2 separate regions of the Homo sapiens genome follow, and region 1 is linked to region 2. Evidence: promoter capture Hi-C in 16 types of primary human blood cells and fetal thymus (Javierre and others, 2016). All regions are on one chromosome and are shown on one strand. Each heading gives the region's core, a stretch centred on a gene start or on the middle of the fragment in contact. The rest is flanking DNA. Distances are from core to core; before and after follow the strand shown.

The links. The method cuts DNA at HindIII sites, captures the fragments that hold promoters and counts their contacts. A CHiCAGO score of 5 or more calls a contact.
Region 1: a contact is called between a fragment that was not itself captured here and the fragment with the promoter of DLEU7-AS1 in region 2, in 1 of 17 cell types (monocytes). The highest score is 6.2, in monocytes.

What each region holds. Positions count from the first base shown.
Region 1 is chr13:50,321,251-50,327,456 of GRCh38, forward strand. All of the region lies in intron 2 of DLEU1 (deleted in lymphocytic leukemia 1), which reads left to right. Among named protein-coding and RNA genes, the nearest start is that of DLEU2, 200 kb to the left of the region's middle. The HindIII fragment of the contact is 2,458 bases long and covers 1,543-4,000 here.
Region 2 is chr13:50,802,346-50,809,125 of GRCh38, forward strand. It overlaps DLEU7-AS1 (DLEU7 antisense RNA 1), which reads left to right and starts at 5,510. Exons shown (of 5, transcript NR_046551.1): 1 at 5,510-5,641; 2 at 6,195-6,361. It also overlaps a transcript of DLEU7 not described here. The HindIII fragment of the contact is 1,259 bases long and covers 5,457-6,715 here.

The DNA of each region.
Region 1 (6,206 bases), core at 1,522-4,021, 480 kb before region 2:
TTGCCCAAATGGAAGGATTTAGGGATAAATTCAGCCAACAGTTACATGCTCAGATTCAAGAATCTGAAATAACCACTATATTGTATAGCTAAAAATAAAGCAGTTTGCACAACACTTGGCATTTTCAGTTGACCTAGTCAATACTAGCTAATAATTTTTATAATTCTTGAGTGAAGTGAGTTTTTTCTTTATTTTACATGTACAACTGGAATCCTGAAAAGTTAATAGATTATCTTTTACCTAAGTGCTACAGTAGGTAAGGTAGTATTGATAGTCTTTTACTGAATCTACAAATATTTTTTTCTTGAACATGACATAATTTCTTTTAACAGTTTTATTGAGACATAACCAACAAACAATAAACTGCACATACATATAGTGTACAATTTGATGTTTTAACATATGTATATTCTTATTAAAACTACCACCACAATCAAGCTAATAAACCCACTACTCCTAAAAGTTTTCTTGGGTCCTTTTGAAATTCCTCTTTCCTAGGTAACCATTGATCTTTTTTTCTGTAACTACACATTAACTTGCATTTTCTAGGATTTTATATAAAGTGAAACATACAGCATGTAATCTTTAAAAAAATCTCTTTTCTTTCAGTCAGAATACTTACTTTGAGACTCATCAATGCTGTTGAATATATCAATAATTCACTCCTTTTTATTGTGGAGTAATATTCTATTGTATGATTATATCACAATTTCTTTATCCATTCACTTAATTATGGGCATTTGGGCTGTTTCCAGTTTTTTGCTGTTACAAAAAAAAAAACGCAGCTATGAATATTTCTGTACAAGCCTGTATATGAACATATTTATTTTCCTCTTAGGTAAAAACCTATGAGTGGAATGGCTGGAACATATGGCAGGCGCATGTGTAACATTTTTGAAATTGTCAAACTGTTTTCTAAAGTGATTGTGCCATTTTACATTCACACCAACAGTGTATGAGAGTTCCAGTTGCTTCACTTCCTTAACATCGCTGGGTGTGGTCAGTTTTCTAAATTTTAGCCATCCTAATAGATTTGACTTCATGCTTTATTGTGGTTTTCATTTGCATTTCCCCAAAGACTAATTATGTTGAACATCTTTACATGTGCTTATTTCCAATTGTCTACCTTTGGTGAGGTGTCTATTTGAATGTTTTATTTTTTTAATTGTTTTTATGTTTTCTTCTTAATGAGTTTTAAAATTTGTTCTTTGTGAGATATGTAGTTTATAAATATTTTCTCCTAGTTTTTGCTTGTCTTCTTATTCTCTTGTCAAAATTAAAAGCTTCTGCTCTTCAAAAGTCTATTGAGTTTCAAATTATCAATTTTTTTCTTTTATGGGTTGTTCATTTGGTGTTATATCTAAGAAATCTTTACCTATCCTGGGATCAGAGAGATTCTCTAACAGAAGTTTTATAATTTTAGGTTTTACATTTAGGTCTATATTTCATTTTGAATTAGTTTTTATATACAATTTAAAGTATGGATCAATGTTTATATTTTTGCATGTGGATATACAATTTTTCCAGCACAATTTATAGAAAAGCTTATTATTACTTCCCTGACTTACCTTTGTACTTCTAGCAAAAATCAATTGTTTGTATATGTGTGGACCTATTTATGGACCCTCTATTTTGCTCCACTGATCTATTTGTCTATCCTTATGCCAGTGCCACACTGTATTGATAACTGTAGTTCTATAATAAGACTTGAAATCAAGGCATGTAAGCCCTCCAGTGTTGTTCTTTTTTCAAAGTTTCTTCAGTATTCGAGGTCTTTTGCATTTCCATATGAATTTTAGAATTAAATTCTCAATTTTTATGGAAAAATTTACTTTTGACTATTGAAAAATTGAATTTTGATTGAGATTGTGTCAAATCTTTATAGATCAGTTTGGAGAAAATAGACATCTTAGCAAAATTGAGTCTTCTGAGGTTGCTCATAACCTACCTTATTGGACACAACAAGAAAGAATGGCACTGCCAATGCTGTGCAGCCCCCACTCTGCCCTTAGTATGTCACATGTGGCATCTGATGTTCAGGCTGAGCAAAATGTCAGTGTCAAGTCATATAATAAATTAGTCACAAATGAGCTTAATTCCTTGCCTTCTAAAAATAAAAATAAAGAGAAGATTAAGTTATAGTATTTTCTTCCTATACCCCAGTGTATAATTTTTTCCCGACTAAGTAGACCACTAGTAAAATGCCTTTCTACCTCTAAGATGCTAGAATAGAAAAAAAATATTGTTCCCTGCTCATCCCAATGATCAAAATTACCTTGTATTTTGTGATGACTGCTTTGGATTTCCAAGGCAGTAGCCACCATGTCTCACCTCATGCCCTGCATGACTTAAGGGAAAGAAGAGATCATAGACAACATCTGGCTGTCTAGTAAGTAGAGCTTGACAGTGTCAGAAACAAGATGCGATGCAGCTATTACTTTGTTAGCTATAGTGCTCTGATTGTTATTTGTTGATGAAAGCTGTGGGAAGAAATGGCAATGCATATAAACAGGAGAAATTTAGTTATAATTTATGCTTCTTTAGAAAATGCCAGCAGCAAACATCATTTCCAAAGCATTCAAACCACCTATGACTAATCACAGGATGACCAATGTTCCCCTTGTGACGTGGTAATCAAGTGCGTTGAAGACATTCCACCTAATTTTGAGCATTTTAAGCAGTATGATGCCATGATTCAGATTTTCCTATTGCAGGTGTCCACAATATTTCCAAATTTATGATATTTTGGAGCCTATGCATTTTTCCCTATGGGCATTGATGACCCACACTGAGTAGAATGAGCAATGTGGGTGTTGGATTGCTGGGCAATTCTTATGCTCCCTGGAGGGATCCCTTTCTCAATTGCCACGGCAGCTATTCCAAACCTTTACATTCATTAACATCCAATAAATATTGATGGAAGCCTTCTCCATAACAGAAACTGTACTCCCACCTTCTACCTATGTTTTCTTCATTTTTAGCAGATAAATCAAATTTTTAACTTTTCAACTACACTTTCTCTTTCTACTTCCAAATGTGCCCATTGTCTCACATCTTTTTACTTCTATCCTTTCTATCTCTCAAGAAGACGCATCCTTCTCAAATACATCCTCACCCCCTATTCTCATTCTGGCTGATCTCCTGTGTCTCTAGGAACTTTGTTCAGATATTCTGCTTCCTCTTATTTTCCATCTTTTCAACTGGACCCATCTTTCCAGATTGCAAATCTGATAGTATCTCCCCGCCAGCCTCCCCACTCCCACACACTAAACCCTGCAGTGGTCACTAGTACTCTTAGGATATATTGAGAAAAAATTATTCCATTTGGCCTCCAAAGCCCTACATAGTCTGGCTTCTGCCTGCCTCCCCATTCTTACTTTTTTTTTTTTAGACAGAGTCTCACTTTGTTGCCCGGGCCAGAGAGAGTGCAGTGGCACTATCTCGGCTCATTGTGACCTCCACCTCCGTGGTTCAAGAGATTCTCGTGCCTCAGCCTCCTGAGTAGCTGGGATTACAGGCGTGCACCACCACGCCCAGCTAATTTTTGTATTTTTAGTAGAGACAGGGTTTTGCCATGTTGGCCAGCTGGTCTCAAACTCCTGCTCTCAAGTGATCTGCCTGCTTCAGCCTCCCAAAGTGCTGGGAGTACAGGCATGAGCCGCCATGCGCAGCCTCCATTCTTATTTTCACTCATTCCTCCTCTCTCTGCTCTACACATACTGGATTTTCAATCCCTGAAACACATCTTGGGGTTTCTCCTATCACAGGGCCTTGCACAAGCTCTTCCCTCTTTACTTAAGTTCCACTCATCTTTGCTGTCTTACTTAAGCATAATTTCTGTAGGAAAACCTTCCCTGACAAGTTGTTATTCTGCCAGTTTTTTCCCTGTAGACTCCCATGGCTTGATTTATGTCTTATTCTTAGAATTTGCCATAATTGACATATTCTATTTAGTGAGAATGATTATTTGATTAACATCTGTCTCCCTCACGAAGGTATAAGCTTCAGGAGGGCAGAGGCTTGTCTTGTTGTGCCCACCACTTAATAACAGAGGCTGGGCCAGGTGCAGTGGCTCACACCTGTAATCCCAGCACTTTGGGAGGGTGAGGCAGGAGGATTGCTTGAGGTCAGGAGTTAAAAGACCAGCCTGGCCAACATGATGAAATCCCATCTCTACTAAAAATACAAAAATTAGCTGGGCGTGGTGGTGCCTGCCTGTAATCCCAGCTACTCAGGAGGCTGAGGCACATTTTCTTCCTTCACTTTTTTCTCTTACTACTCTTCTCTCTTCCTTCTTTGTTTTGTTTACTATCTTTTTTCTCTCTTTTTATCACTTTATCTAATAAATACTTATTGGGCAAATGAATGAAATGCTAGTCTTCCTGAGGGTTTTCTGGTTTTTGACTTTTTTTTCTCTTTTTCGTCTGCCTCCTTTTCCTTAGTAATCTTATCCAACACCATGGCTTCACCACCATCCATATCCATAATGCCCCATGATGTCCAGACCTGTATTTTCAACTGATTATCTTCCTGGAATTGTCCTCTAGTTACTTAAACTCAACCTAACTCAAACCAAAGTGGTTATCTTCCTTAAATATTTTTCTTCTGCTTAATCCTACCCTTTGTAAAGTTTGCCACTACCCATTTCAAACGGCTTAAACCCAAAACCTAAGGTCATTTTTCTTCCTTTTCCACAAATACCAAATTCTGTTGATGCAAATGAAATGTCCCTTTCCAAAATCCCCACTTATATGCCCCTAAGTACTATTGCCTAGTTTTGTTCTTCTCTAACTTTTCCAGAAGGAGAACTCTTTTATGTAAGAGGAATATGTAAAAATTATGACATGAGGTGGACGGAAGGGAGCTGCTCTAGCTGAAGGTGGGAGAAGGGATCTGAAAGCAATCCCTTGCCCACTGAGGCAGTACCAGAAGTTGGTATAGTTTGAAAGCTACTAGCCTACGTTACTGCAACACCCTTTAAAAAAACTGCTTTTACATTTTTTTTCACATGTAAAACACAGAAATAATAGAGATTTATGAAATATCTACTATGGGCTAGGCATTGTAGCAGGTGCTGTGAATATAATGGTGATTGAAATCAATATAGCCCCTGCTCTCAAGGAGGTTATATCTAACAGGGATGGCAGAGAGAAAAAAAGCAATTATAACCAAGTGAAGTAAGTGCTATGATGTGGGTGGCAAGGAGCTGCGGGCTATGTAGGAGAAGACCTAATGTAGTGCAGGGACAGGTTGGGGGTGGACCACGGGTAGCTTCCTACAGGAAGAGACTGTTAGGCTAGGACCTAAAAGATGAGTTGGAGTTCAGCAGGTGAAGAGAAGAGAAGACTGTTTCAGGCAGAGGAAACAGCACTGTTGGTTGTTCCAAGGGAGCTAGCTCAGCACTGTAGGGAGAGGAGCGGGAGTGTAGAGTGAGTATTCACGTCAGGGCTCATCTTTAGCTTAAAAAGAACCAGGGAACTCTGGAGAGTCTAGTTCAGAGTATAATGCTTTCTCCATCCCTTTCTTGCCCCGTCCTGCCTGGTTTCTTCTTTCGGCTTTGGTACTCATTGGGATTAGTTCCTCACTGCCAAGCTTGAAGCCAATAATTTGATCTGAAGCAGACGACTTTCAGCAAACCACCGGAAGCCTCCCTGCTCCCCATCTCCATGCGACAACCTCAAATAATTCAGAGCTGTGTAAACCTTGAAACCACCTAAGCCCCACCCAGAGACCTCATAACTCTTAAAAAATTCTTCCTCAAACAGAGGAATTTCGTAGGCTTGTTTGATCTTTTTATGTTGCTGTTTTCAGGATATAACTTTTCTCTTTTCCTCTCAAGCCCGGGCTCTAGGCAGTTATCCAAGAGAAGAGAGGTCTGGAGACTTCAGCCTGTCTCAGGGCACACATCAAGGCAGAGATGAAAATATAGGTGAATAGTCTGGGATATCTTTATGAACACTTCTCAGATGACTTGGCTGAAATCTTTCTCTTACATCAGAACTCAATGGTTTTAACAACACAGTTTGATAAAAAACATTTTCTTTAGCAGTCATGTTACAGTAATTAACATGTAACCTTGGGAACTCTATACGTGATTTAATTCCTCTCTGAACCAATTTTTCCTAGTTTTGTAGACATATCTTGGGTTTCTTTCCAGGTACAAGAAGAGTTTTAAGAATGATGGCCATATGGATTTTCTGTTTAGC
Region 2 (6,780 bases), core at 4,260-6,759:
CACTAAACAGAGTAGGTCAGAAAGAAAGAACTAAGCAAAACCATTTAATTAGTGCTCCTGACTCTCAAGAAAGCTGGAGCCAAAAATGAAATTCTTAGATAGCAAGCCCATGTTCTTCATATTGGTGTCTTCATTTAGAAAGCGACAGTACCTATGTCAACAGCTATGTTGAGAAATATTAAGCAGAAATGAAGAAAATGCAATATATATCAAAAATTGAATAAAATTTTCTCCATGGTTGTTCTTGTTTCAATGCCCTCAAAAACTAATTTAAATATTTTATTTAATTTTGAATAGGTCATACATATTTGGGGTACTAAACTTGGATGGCACAAAAGGATATACACTAAAGAGTAACTCTCCCTCTTATCTCTGTCACTGAGACAACCAGTTCTCCTCACAGGAGGCGACCTGAATTACTAATTATATATGGATATTTCCAGATATGTTTTATATGTCTGTACATGTGTATATCATACATGTACATGTACTTTTTTACACAGTTGGGACCACGCTATTTATACTTATCTGTGCCTTGTCTTTTTATCCACATAACAATAGAGCTTAAATAGGCTTCTACATTATTACATAATATATTTTCTTATTAGTTTTTATCACACGGCACTTCATTGTGTAATGTTTCATAATTTATTTAACCTGTTCCCTATTGATAACGTTTAGGCAGTTTCAGATTTTTACATGTATAACCAATAGCCTAACAGGTCATTGGTACATAAATCATTTCACACATTTGCAAATACATCTGTAGGAAACATTCCTCAAATTGGAATTGCTAGGTCAAAGGTATGTGCATTTGTCATTTTGATAGATATTGACAAATTTCCCTCAACTAAGATTGTACGAATTTATACTTTAACCATCAGTGTGTGAAACGACTCACTCTCCCCTTCCTCATGGACTCAGCATGTTATAGAATGTGTTGATCATTGTCAATCTGATGTGAAGTAATATTTTCTGATAATTTAACTTGAAATTCTCTCAACTTTAGTGAATTAATAATGCTTTGCCCTTTTTTATTAGGTTGTTAGACATTTCCTTATTGATATAATTCTCTCTATATTAGAATATTCTACATTAATAAAATTAACCCATTAAAGTGTGTCAAATATGGTAGCCACCAGCCCCATGTGGCTCTTGAACACTTGAAATGTGGCTAGTTCCAATTGTGATGCACAGTAATTATAAAATACACACCAGATTTCTTGGAACAAAAAGGAATAGAAATATCTTATTTATAATATTTTGTATTGATTACTTATTGAAATAAAATTATTTTTGATATGACAAATTAAATAAAACATATTACTAAAATTAATTTCTTTAATTAAAGAAAAAAGGTGATGCATTTCTTTAAAAAACAGACTTCTTTTTACTTTTTACACTAACTACTAGAAAATTTAGAATTACACGTGTAGCTTACATTGTATTTCCATTGACAGTGCTAGTCTACTATGTGAGCTGCAAATTTTTTGCCCAGTTTATTTTTATATTGTCAGATTCATCAGTTTTTTGTTATGACTTCTGAGATTTGTAATGGACTTAAAGAGATCTTCCTTACTACAATACTTTTAAAACTTTTCCATGGTGGGTCCTAGTATTTTTATATTTTTATTAACGTGGAAATCTTTGATTCATCAGGAAATCATTTTGATGTAAGGTCTGAGGTTAGAATCCAATATTAATTTTTTAGAGGGCTAGAATGAACAACATTTATTAATTTCACCCTTTTCCCACTAATTGAAATGTCATCACGTCCTAAATATTTTAATGTCAGGTAGGGCTAGTACCATGTATTTTCTATTTTTTCCCCTGAATTTTCCTGGTTATTCCTGCTTGTTTTTTTCCTTTATATGAACTTTAGAATCATATATAGACTCCCAAATTTTATTGATATTCTTATAGGACCTGTATTAAATGTTTATATTTTTTTAGAGAGAATTGAAAACTGTCTGATACTGAGTTTCCCTCACCAAGAATATAATATACTTTTATATCTGTTCAAGTGTTCTTTTGTGTCCACAAGAGACAGTGTAATGTTGTTCGTTTTATGGGGTTTTTTTTTTTTCTGTTGTTGTTGTTTTTGTTTTTGAGACAGAGTCTCACTCTGTCACCCAGGCTGGAGTGTGGAGTGCAGTGGCATGATCTCAGCTCACTGCAATCTCTGCCTCCTGGGTTCAAGTGATTCTCCTGCCTCAGCCTCCTGAGTAGCTGCAACCACAGGCATGCACCACCACACCCAGCTATTTTTTAAAAATTTTTATTAGAGATGGGATTTCACCATGTTGGTCAGGCTGGTCTCGAACTCCTGACCTCAGGTGATCCGCCAGCCTAGGCCTCTCAAAGTGCTGGGATTGCAGGTAGGAGCCACCACGTCCAGCCAGTTAAAGATTTTACATAGGTTTTCACATCTGACAAATTTATTCTAAATATTTTCTAGTGATATTGCTATCAAAAATGAAGTATTTTCTTCTATTATGCCTTTTTTATTTTAATATAGGAAGGATGATGATTGTATATATTTACTTTATAACCAAAGACCTAACTGAATTCCACTATTGTTCTAATATTTTTTTTCAGTTGGCTCACTTTTTATATAATAAAATTTTTACTTTTATAATCTACAAGCAATTATTATTTGTCTTTTTCTTTTCTAATTTGTATACATTTTCTTTCTCTCTTGTAAAACTGCATTGCTTAGGATGTCTAGATCAACGTCTATGAATAGTTGTGGTAGTAGACATTCTTGTCTTGTTCCTGACATTAATATAAATATTTCTGAGTTTCCTTATAGATTATAGCACTAGCTTTTAGATTGAGATTAGTATATTGCACTAGGTTAAGGAAGTATCTATTGCCATTTATTGACAGTTTTGTTTTGTTGTTTATTTGCTTGTTTAGTAAGAATGGATGTTGGAGTTTATCAAATGTCTCTCAGCATCTAGAAACATGATTTTTAATCTATTAGTGTGGTAGAAATATATTAATAGATTTCCTAATATTGAACCATCCTTGCATTCTAGAATAAATATAATTGCTCATGGTGTGTTAGTTTTTTAATGTGTAATTGGATTTTGTTTAATAATGCTTTATATTCATAATTTTTGTGTAATAATCCTAACAGTTATTGTTTTATTATTTTGATTTTCTTCTTCAAGAACACCAATTATGCATATGTTTGATTTTTTTATATATTTTGCATCTATCATATAACCCTTTTAAATATCTTTTTTATTTATTCTTTTTACTCATTTTTTTCTAATTCCGTCTTCCACATGTCTAGCTATGCTTTCAGCAATGCCCTGTCTTCTTTGTGCAGTTTCCTACCACTTCTCATTCAGCTTTATCGCCTTTCCTTTTTCTAGAAACCTCACCACTTTGAGGCCCAGGGAAGCACTCAGTCAAGCTGACACACCCTTATTGCTAGAGAACAAATATCAGCAAACTATAGCCCATTGGCTAGCTTTCTTTTTTGGGAAGTAAAGTTTTATTGGAATATAGATATGCCCATTTGTTTATTGTACATGGTTGCTTCAGCACTACAGTGGCAGAATTTGATAGTTATGGCAGAGACCATATGGCCCAGAAATTCTAAAATATTTACTATTTGGTTGTATAAGAAGTGGTTTGCTGCCCTCTATTGTAAAAACCTCCATTTACATTTCAGTATGTATCACTTAGAATTGTGCTTTTATGACTTTCTTGAAGCTCAGAATCCACAGGCATCTTCACTCTGGTACTTCCTATGTCCTATGCCACTAAGTCTTCTCTCTCTCTCATTTAAAAATCTCTGTTGTTTCCTAGTTTTACAAAGGATAAGCTTTGCATTACTGTTTTTCTTGATTCCCTTGATGTTTTGGTTGGTTTTTCTGAGATATGAATAAGAAAATACTCACTTAGCTCTGCATGTTAAAATTGGAAGTCCTCAGATAATATTCCAAGAAATTATTTTTTATTTTCATCTTTGGTTGGTTGTTTTTTGACCATTGGATAGAGATCTTAGCATACTAAATGTCTTTATCCTGAATATATAGAGATTTTCTCTCCTTAATTTAATGATTTTATGACTTCTGCAATTCTTTTAGTGATTATTTAGTTCTCAATGAAGAACATAAACACAACTTTTTAAAAAACATGTATTAGTAAGGAAAAATTTGTTTTATATTTTCTATTGCCCTAAATTCTGACTCATATTAGACAGCTCGGAGTAATATTTAATACTTGAAACTTCACAAGTAATTACAAATAAATAAATGCTATAAATATTAAAAAATAGGAGCAATCTCAACTTTATCCTCACATTTTTCTGCTAAGACTTATTTAGTTACATATTGGGCTTATTTTAAAATTTAACCAAAATTATTTGATCTTTAATTATGTTTTTACCTAGAAATGTATATTTAAAAATAAAGTGTAATTCCAGTTGTATTTATACTATTCAGAATTTCAGAAGTCTGTAATCCCAGCTACTCGGGAGGCTGAGGCAGGAGAATTGCTTGAGCCTGGGAAGTGGAGGTTGCAATGAGCAGAGATCGCACCATTGCACTCCAGCCTGGGTGACAGAGCTAGACTCACTGCACTCTAGCCTGGGTGACAGAGCTAGACTCCCTCTCAAAAAAAAAAAAAAAAAAAAAAGTCGGTCTGCTCCTCTGCCTTTTTTTTTCCTACTTTTAAGAGTAGTCTGCCTCCGCAAACTTTAGTAAAGAAGTACTAAAATTAAGTGTGTTAAATGGTGTTAAGATATATATAAAAATTAATTTTTAAAGAGAGTTTAGATTGTTATCTTTAAATTTTTTTATACATTTCATAAAACATAAGTATTTCCTAATCATTAATAGGTTTTAATGAGCTTTAGTAGATGAGCAGAAATATCAGAGATATAAAATGATACTATACCGGCTTCCTTAAGAAGCTTTCTATTATTTCTTAGAATCCTGCTTTATTCTCTTTCTTGAATTCATACATGGCATTTAAAAATCTCTTAAAGATGGTCATCAAAAACAAACAAATTTTTTAAAAGATGGTATTTGACATCTCCCCTCCCTCCTCCTGCTTCTCTCAAGCACCAGTTTCCAGGTACCACTGCCTATAAAGCCTTTTCCAAACACAAATTTAATCTTTGAGTGTTGAGGTTTTTTTGGTGTTTTTTTTTTTAAGGTAATGTATTATCCTATGCAATGATATTGAGCTTTTGACTGAGAAATTGTGAAATCAAAAGTAAAGTATAGGAATTCCTTAATGGACATTTCAAGAACTTTGAAAGGCTATTGTAAGGGGAAGAAAGAGGGAAAATCTGTTTCAGTAGGAGACCTTCTCACCTCTTTACTCATAAGCCAGCCCGGGCATCATATGACTTCATCAGACTGCAACTTACTGTTCTCCCCTTTGTGGGGAGTGTCAAATGCTATAATAGAGTTCTCCAGTCTGAGGTCAGCGAAAGCTTCTCAAAGGAGATGATGCCTGGCTAAAGGGACTTTCTTTCTGAGAAAGGGATCAGCATGTGCAAAGATGAAGAGGCATAAGGACTGACCAGTGGGTCACGGCAATGAGACATTTACTGCTGACCTCCAAGAGAAGACTTCCATTGAATGAGAGGAAGATCTACACTACTAATGATCAAACTGTGAGTGTTTTAGCTTTGTAGACTTATCAGGAACTTGGGAGATCAAGAAGACAGGATCAAACAGCAAATGGAGCTTTATCAGAAATGAAGAAAAGCATTTCTCCACAGTCCTAAGCTAAACCCTTTCTGCTAGTCCCAGTTCTTATATGTGCATCAAGGCAAAAAAACATTAATCAGAACAGGAATGTTTGATTGCTCATTCAAATTTGAAATAAGCAGCTTCCATTCTTCTAACCTTCCCTGGTGGGGCCATAACATTATCAATCAATATCAAGTCTGGCATATCATTGGCTATCACTATCCAGTGAGTATCTGAGGCAGCTGAAAGAAATTGGGGCATCCATGTAAGAATATTCATTTTCTATCATTATTTACTTAAATATGTAATATATCAAGATCTGTTAGACATATTTAAGTATATATACTTATATGAGGTTGGGGGTCCCTGCAAGAAGTACCAAGTGTTTCTAGAAGAAATGTACTTGAATATAATCGCTGTATAATCACTGTGAGAACAGAGTTCCATATCTGTCCTGTACATGCTTGTCTCTAGTACCTGGAGCAGTATCTGACACAGATATGTGTTGAGTGAATGGATGAATAAATAGATAGAAGGAAGATCCTCCAACTATGAAGTTTCTTCTTTTCTTCTGCTGCTGTTGAGTAGATGAGGGTGCCAAGAAATAAGACAGCAACACCAGGAAGAAGAACAAATTTGGGGTGAGTAGGGGTGGAAAGGATGACTGATTTATAAATTGGGTTTAGGAGCCAAGAGTTATGCTCTAGCAATTGGGTATAGTAGAAGATATTTAAATAAGAAATTGCTGATATTCTTGCAAACTGAGCTTTTCTGTAAAATCATGAGTTTAGAATTCTTTATTTCAGAAGGAAAAAAAAAAACTTAGAAAGGTCAGTTGGAACAAAAAGGGAAATTAAAAAGCCACAGAGAGAAACAACTATGGTGTCCTGGGGTACATTTAAAATAAGAAGGTACTTAAGCAAAATCATTGCGTTGAGGACATTTTCTTAAATAGGATCAATTACCAGTGTCCCAGTCAATTCCACATGTCAAGAAGCTTGTCTACCTACTTGACTGACCCAGGCCTAAAAATGATAATAGCAACTTGGTGGAGTTATCT